Regions from separate parts of the Homo sapiens genome. Here region 1 is linked to region 2. The links are contacts of gene promoters, found by promoter capture Hi-C in human tissues and cell types (Jung and others, 2019). All regions are on one chromosome and are shown on one strand. The core of a region is centred on a gene start or on the middle of the fragment in contact, and the rest is flanking DNA. Distances in the headings are between cores, read along the strand shown.

Region 1 (3,752 bases), core at 1,253-3,752, 130 kb before region 2:
GTTATTGACTAGCATTTTTCTTAAATTAGCGTGCTTAGAAAACATAATTGATTTGGCAGGGCGCGGTGACTCATGCCTGTAATCCCAGCACTTTGAGAGGCCGAGGCGGGCAGATTGCCTGAGGTCAGGAGTTTGAGACCTGCCTGGTCAACTTAGTGAAACCCCATCTCTACTAAAAATAGAAAAATTAGCCGAGCGTGGTGGTGGGCGCCTGTGATCCTAGCTACTTGGGAGGCTGAGGCAGGAGAGTCGCTTGAACCCAGGAGGCAGAGGTTGCAGTAAGCTGAGATCACGGCACTGCACTCCAGCCTGGGCAACAGAGGGAGATTCCGCCTCAAAAAAAAAAAAAAAAAAAAAAAGGAAAAGAAAAAAATAATAAATGATTTAAACAGGAAACTAGTGGTAAGAACAAACAACAGGCTGCATGGATCCAGTGCTGGGCCCGGGGTCAGAGGACAGAAACTGCGAAGGGCGGTCTCAAGTGAGGCTGCCGATTCCGGTCCCTGAAGGCCTTGGACCAGGGCACAGAGGAGGGACTGCTGGCTGCAGGAGGGCCCTGTGACCTCATGCTGCTCCTCACTTCACCTCCTTCCCTTGGCTTCCACGCTTCCATTGCTTCCGACCTCGGTGTCCCCGTCTTCTGTCTCCTCCACTGGCTCTTCCTCCCAGCCTTTCTGTGTCGGAGGCTCCTGGATCCAGCATGGGTCCCATCCTCTTTCCTTCCTGCCTTCTCATGGCTTTAAATGGCCTCTAGACGTGGGCGGCGCCCAGATGTGAGCTTCAGCCCAGACTTCTCCCTTGCACTCCAGCCTCGTACCCAGGAGCCCACCTGATTCATGGATTTTTATCTCCCATACATCTTGAGCTTAGCACGTCCAAAACAGACTCTCGTTCTCCCCCAAATCTTCTATGCCCCAGGTCTTCTGTATCCCAGGGGATGGCAAATCATTCCTCCAGTTGCCCAGCTGGAAACGCTGTAGTCATCCTTGATTCTCTCTTTCTCTCACACCCCATATCCAATTTTCAGACAATCCTGCTGGTCCCACCTTCAAAGCATATCCAGAATTCGGCCACTTCCCACCACCTCACTCTATTGCCCTCGGCCTGCATCATGGCAATGGCCTCCTACCTGGTCCCCACCACGCAGCAGCAGAGAACTATTTTAAAATGTGAGACCCTGTCACTACCCTGCTCCAAGCCCCTCCAAGGCGTCCCCACCTAGCCCAGAGGGAAAGCCACAGTCCTTACGGAAGCCGGCAAGGCCCTGCTCAATCCGCTCCCCTGCGCCCACTATCTCTGACCGCAGCTCCCGCCTCCCTGTGCCCCACCAGCCACCCGGGTCTCCTCAAGGGTCACAAAACACACCAGGGTCCCTGCCTCAGGTACAGTCCCACCTTCGTGGCCCCTCATCTCCTTCAAGCCTGAAAGCCTCGCTCCTCCCCGCCTCCCCAGGGCCTGCCTGCTTTACCTTCCAACCAGCCACACCATTTACTTGTTTTTGTATTGCCCGTTACCCCAACTAGGAAGGCGAGGAGTTGTGTCTGTTCTGTTGACTGCCCTGTCCCCGGCGTCTGGGGCCGCGCCTGTCCGAGGGTCAGGTCCGACGCTGGGCATGTGGGGACTCAGTGAGCGGACCCTGGGAAAGACGGCAGCTCGGGAAGGACAAGTGGGGGCCGTCGCGGTGGAGTGGTGCCCGGGGCCGGCCCGGGGCGCGCGACTGCACGGGCAGCGTGGGGCGGCCGCGCGGGGAAGTGGCGCCCGGGAGGCTGCGGGGCACAGACATCGCGGAGCCCCAGGGACTGCCGCCGAGGGGACCGCGGGAGCTGCGAGGGCAAGAAATCCTAAAAGCGCGCGGCCGCGGTGGGCCAGGAGAAGGGACATTCCGGAGACGGCTCTCGGGGGAAGCCACGGGACTCGGGCGTGACAGCCTGCGAGAACCGAGAGGTGAGACGCGCGACCGGGGAGCGCGGCGACCGGCAGAGGCGCCCCCGCCGGGCGAGCGCAGGGGCAGCGCGGGGCGCTGGGGCCGGAACAGCGGGCAATGTGGGCACGGGGCGCGGAGGCCTGAGTGAGCGAAGAAGGAGGCGGCTGTACGGCCGGGGCTCGTCGCGAAGGGGATGGCCGGGGACGGCGGGGACGGCGGGGGCGGCGGGGGCGGTGGCGGGGCGCGAGCGGGGGCGCTCTCGGTGCGCGCGGAGGTTGGCGGGTGCGCGCCGCAGCCGCAGCGCTCCCTCTCCTGTCAGGGCAGGCGCGTACGGCCGCGAGTCGGGCGCGCAGCCCCGGGAGCGCAGTCCCGGGCGCAACCTCGCGGAACGCGCGGCCCCCGCCCCCCGCCCCGCGCCGCTCGTCCCCGTCAGCCCCGCCCCGGCGCTCTTCTCGCCGACCAATCAGGAGGCGCGACCGGCCTCCCAGCCCCGAGGCCTCGCCCCCAGCCGGCGCATCGCCAGCCAATGAGCGGCCGAGCCCGGCGCCCAGTGCGCGCAGCCCGCGCGGAGCCGGCTCAGAGCGAGAAAAGCAAACCCAACCCGTCGGGGCCGCCGCTCCGGACCCGCAGCCGCCGCCGCCGCCTCCTCCCCCCGGATCGGGTGTACTGTCCCAACCCGAAAGTCCAGTTCTGCGGCCCGGCAGCGGCGAGCGGGCGCGATGACACAGGAGTACGACAAGTGAGTGAGGCGCAGGAGTCCGGCCGCCGCGGGGGGGCCGCGCTGAGGGGCCGCACCTGCAGCGAGCGAGCCGGGCGCAGACCCGAGGCCGCGCGGGCGGGCGGGCGCGGGGCGCGAGCCGGGGGCCGCTGTCCACTCCACGCCGCCACGGCCTTTGCCCCTTAGCCCTGCCGTGCTCTTTGTTCGGTCGGAGCCTCGGGAGGAGAGACCCTGTCCTCGGGGAAACTCGACACCGGAGGGGCCACCCTCCTCCCCTCCTCCGCGGCCAGGTTGGGTCCCCTCGGGCGCGCACCTTGGGGTCCGGGCCCCCGGCGCGGTCGGGTGCGGCGCGAGGTCGGGGCGCAGCCAACGCCCCCGGGCCTCCCCGCCCCCCTCTCCTGCCCGGTCGGCCTCGGGAGCCTGGTGGGGCTCGCGCCGCGTCGGGACAGGTGGACTTCTCCAGGTAATCTGTGGTCTCAGGCTCGTCACTCGGCGACCTGCTGGAACCTCCAAAACAGAAATGTAGGGAAAGGTTGAAGTGCCCCGATGTCCGGGCGTTTTCTTTTCCCTGGCTGGCGGCATGAGTGGGAAAACGGCTGTAGGAGTTATTTTGCCACTTGCATCATTGATGGTAATTACAGATTACCGTGTTTTTAGTGCTCGAGAGAATCAAGAGGATGAAACTTTGAAATCCGGGTGTTAAACGAGAAAGTACTGTACAAGCTAATATGCTTTTTAGAGTGTGTGATTTAAAAGCGTATTTCGACAAATGTGAGGTGGTAGTGTAATAAGGCATGGGGGATTAACTGGGCGAGGGAGTTTTCTGTATTTTCTTTGCAGCTTTTCTGAAAATATAAAATTGTCCTAAAAATTTTAAAAACTTACTAAAGAAAAAACAGGGAAATCGCACCAGGCCAGTCAGTATATTTCAGATCAGGAAGTTTAAGGCAGATAGGTACCCCTCCCAGTTTCTTAGTTATTTGTGAAGGATCGGTTTTTGTCAGTGTGTTCTTTTTCTGGATGAGATAGATATTTTGTATGGAGTATCTTAAATGGATTACTCTTATGTTGTAGAATATGCAGTTAAATTATTGCCTGAAACATATTTCA
Region 2 (4,066 bases), core at 318-2,817:
ATCAGCAAATCAGAGGGCACAACATTCACTCTTGCTATTTGCCTCTCATTTTCACCTCCGAGTTTCCAAAGCACTTGAAAATGAACACTAAAATTAACTGCCTCCTTGCTATGTGTGAATTCCTCCCAAATTTCTCAGCTATTTGTCCAGGCAGTGTTATATAACTGCAGGCTGATGTGGTATTAAAGGAATCTTGTTATATAATTCAGCCCTACTCACTGCAGCTCGCTTTTCCTCTTTAAAGACCGTAAGGGAGAGGAGCAGGGAACCAGGGCCAGAGGGAGAGAGCTCTGTGCACTGTCGCCTGGGGCTGTCCCTCTCCCCCACCCTCCCTGGGGCCTTTTCAGGATTCCTTGGTGCGGTAGCCACCCAGGAAGGCATCTTCCTCGGCTCCCAGCGGCTGCTAAGCAAAGCCTCCCGGGCCTCAGGGAGGAGGACGAGGCCCTTGGCATCCTCCCCGAGCCCGGGAGCGGATGTTAAAGATCTTGTTCATTCAGCTCTGCTGGAGCGAAGACGGTTGCCAAACCAGAGTGCTTGTTTTATTGTTTTTTTAGAACAGCAGGACTGTTATTACGAGTATTCAGGGAGAGAGAATAGGAAGCGCAAAAGAGATTCCGCAGCATCCTAAAAATATCAGTAACATGAGAATTGCCTGCCCAGCAAGGCAAGGATCTGGACCGGTGGGCGCGGCAGGGCGCTTCTGAGCCACCGTCTGGCTGCCGTGCCACCACCGCCGGCGCCCCGCTCCAGGGCGGCCCGGGAAGGCCAGGCGGGGCCGCGGGCCCGAGGGGAGCCGGGAGCCCGGCGCGCTCCGCCTAGGGGTGTCCTTCCTCGGCCGCTCCCAGCGCGATCGCCCCCACGCCTGGACACAGACCCGGAGACGGGGCAGAGAGGGAGGAAACCTGGGGGCCCAGGGGCGGGGAGGCCGGGGCAGCGGGGAGCACGCAAGTCGGAGGCTGGAAGGGGGCGCAGCGCGACCGGCGCCCAGGGCTGGGGCGGGGACGCGCGGCCGGTGAGTGGGGTCCCCGCCGTCCCCCGAGGCCCTGCGGCTCCCACACTCACCGCGCTCCCCGCGACCGCGGTGGGTCGGAGCCGGGCTGGGCGGCGCGGGGCGGGCTCCGGGGGGCCCCAGGCCGCCGACTCGGCCAGCAGCTCGTCCAGCAGGCGCAGCGTCTCGTCCCTGCCGTCGGGGGGCGCCACGGGGCTGGGGTCGCGGCCGGGCGCCTCCTCCGCGGCTGCCCCCGGGACCTCGGCCGCCGCCACCGGCACCCGCCGGCGGGTCCCGCCCTCCAGGGCTGCCGCTCCGGGCCCCGCGGGGAGGCTCTCGGGGCTGCGCCGCCGCCTCAGAGTCCGGCTGCTCCGGCTGCTGCCGCTGCCCATGGCGCGCCCGCCGCCTCCCGGACCGCCGAGGGGGCCCCCATGAGGGGGCGCGGCCGGGGGCGGGGACGCTAGGGGGTGCGGCCGGGGCGGGCTGCAGGGGGAGGCGCGGGGCGAGGTCCGGGAAGCGACCGCGGCCAGGGGCTAGGGTTCCCGGGCGGGGGTCGCGGCCGGAGGACGGGGGTGCGAGCCGGAGCCTGGGGAGGGGCGGGCGAGGCAGGGCTGCATAGGCGTCCCGAGGGGGCGCACACCGGCCCTAGGGAGGGGCGGGCCCGAGACCCCGGCGAGGAGCACCGGGTGCGGGCGCGGCCTCCCCTCCCGGGTCTCCCCCTACAGTCCCCCCACTCCCGCCCACGGGTCCCCTCGCTCCCCGCCGTCGGGTCAGCCCTGTCCCGGCCTTCTGGAATTGCTGAACCCTGCGGGGGGCCCGGCTGAGTTTGTTCATTTATGGAAACGCTCCCCAGACGACGCTCGCCGGGCCCGTGGGAGGCCGCGGGAGCTTGGGGGGACTTCCCAAAGCCTGAGCCCCCTAGCGATGCGCGGGGTGGGCGGGGGAAAGACCCTGAGGGCTGCGCGCGCTGCGTTCGCGAGGTCCGGCCGTCAGTGCGCCCCGACCTTTCAGTGTCCGCCAGGCCTGAGACGCCCCGGGAGGGAAGGGGCGATCCTCCGGGCACCAACAGCCCCCTCCGGCCTTCTCCTTCCCTCTGTTGCCCCAGCGGAGACTGGATGTGTGAAGGTTGAGCCTCATCAAAACCTCCAAATAGTCACTACTTTTGGGAAAGAAAAACTTTGAAAATGAAGGAGAAAGGCAAAGCAACCCCCACCTCGCCCTCCCCCCGCCACAGGAAAGAAGCAAAAGGAAATACCTAGGTGGTGGTCATAAGTCTAGCTTTTGGTCTCGGATTTTTTTTTTTTTTCCCTTAACCGCTTTTCTTTTTAAGTGAACTAACCACAACCCAGACTAGAAAACACTCCAAAGCTGCCGAATTCAAACCCAGCGAGCCTTCCTGTTGGTTGGTTCTGTGTTTTACTTAAATGTGATTACTTCCTTCCCTTGCCCACCTCCTGCAACTTTAAATTCCAGCCTTTCCAAGACAGGGCAATTCAAAAGTCCTGGGTTTAACTCACCTATCTTGACTTGACATTAACTTTTATCCTGATTGATTGGATTCCAGAATAATTGTGAAAATGGAATTTCGGCTAAACTTTCCCAACCACAGACTTGAAATTCTACTATTTTATCACTTCAGGAGTAGACATTAAAAAACATATGCCTAAGAAAATGGAATAAAAATGGGACTCAGATTCACATCCATTTATTTTTATTATTAAGAGAGAACAAGAGGCCGGGCGCGGTGGCTCACGCCCGTAATCCCAGCACTTTGGGAAGCCGAGGCAGGTGGATCACGAGGTCAAGAGACCGAGACCATCCTGGCTAACACGGTGAAACACCGTCTCTACTAAAAATACAAAAAATTAGCCGGGCGTGGTGGCGGGCGCCTGTAGTCCCAGCTACTCAGGAGACTGAGGCAGGAGAATGGCGTGAACCCGGGAGGTGGAGGTTGCAGTGAGCCGAGATCGCGCCACTGCACTCCAGCCTGGGCGACAGAGTGAGGCTCGTCTCAAAAAAAAAAAAAAAAAAAAGAACAAGAAAGTATTTATAATCTAGCTGGACGTGGTGGCTCATGCCTGTAATCCCAACACTTTCAGAGGTTGAGGCGAGCAGATCACTTTAGGTGAGGAGTTTGAGACCAGCCTGGCCAACATGGTGAAACTGTCTCTACTAAAAATACAAAAATTAGCTGGGCATGCTCACTTGAACCCAGGAGGTGGAGGTTGCAGTGAGCCGAGATCACGCCACTGCACTCCAGCCTGGGCAACAGAGCTGGACTCTGTCTCAAAAAAAAAAAAAGAAAGAAAGAAAAGAAAAGAGAGAGAGAAGAGAGGTGAGACAGAGAGGGAAAAGAAAAAGAAGAGAAAAAAAATGAGGCTGTAATCCCAGCACTTTAGGAGGCTGATGCGAGCGGATCACTTCAGGTCAGGAGTTCGAGACCAGCCTGGCCAATAGGATGAAACCCTGTCTCTACTACAAATACAAAAATTAGCCGGGCATGGTGAAGGGCACCTGTAGTCCTAGCTGCTCGGGAGCCTGAGGCAGGAGTCACTTGAACCCGTTAGGCGGAGGTTGCAGTGAGCCGAGATCGCACCACTGTACTCCAGCCTGGGCAACCAAAGAGACTCCGTCTCAAAAAAAAAAAAAAACAAAACAAACAACAACAACAACAAACAATAAAGAAAAAGCAAAAAGAAAAGAAAAAAAATTTTTTAAAGGGAAGTATTTATGATCCCCCCTGCCTTTTTTTTGAGACGGAGTCTCGCTCTGTTGCACAGGCTGTAGTGCAGTGGCCGGATCTCTGCTCACTGCAACCTCCGCCTCCCGGGTTCAAGTGATTCTTCTGCTTCAGGCTCCTGAGCAGCTGGGATTACAGGCACGCACCACCACATCCGGCTAATTTTTGTATTTTTAGTAGAGACAGGGTTTCACCATGTTCGCCAGGCTGGTTTTGAACTCCTGACCTCAGGTAATCCACCTGCCTTGGCCTCCCTAAGTGCTGGGATTACAGGCGTAAGCTACCGTGCCTGGCCTCTCCCCCCCTTTTTTTTGATGTGCCATCTTAACCATCCAGGT

Evidence for each region. The method cuts DNA at HindIII sites, captures the fragments that hold promoters and counts their contacts. A contact is called where the count stands out against the background at its distance.
Region 1: the fragment with the promoter of GRHL1 here is called in contact with the fragment with the promoter of CYS1 in region 2 in 2 of the 25 tissues and cell types used here (pancreas and stomach).

Annotation. Positions count from the first base shown.
Region 1 is chr2:9,949,191-9,952,942 of GRCh38, forward strand. GRHL1 (grainyhead like transcription factor 1) reads left to right here and starts at 2,503. Exons shown (of 16, transcript NM_198182.3): 1 at 2,503-2,663. The coding sequence starts at 2,644. LOC105373422 (a long non-coding RNA gene) reads right to left here and starts at 1,663. Exons shown (of 3, transcript XR_922784.4): 1 at 1,515-1,663. RefSeq lists silencers at 1,734-1,813, 1,964-2,013, 2,114-2,163, 2,254-2,793. The HindIII fragment of the contact is 17,390 bases long and covers 1-3,752 here.
Region 2 is chr2:10,078,844-10,082,909 of GRCh38, forward strand. It overlaps CYS1 (cystin 1), which reads right to left and starts at 1,568. Exons shown (of 3, transcript NM_001037160.3): 1 at 1,063-1,568. The coding sequence starts at 1,380. RefSeq lists silencers at 703-1,042, 1,113-1,352, 1,413-1,472, 1,643-1,882. The HindIII fragment of the contact is 24,294 bases long and covers 1-4,066 here.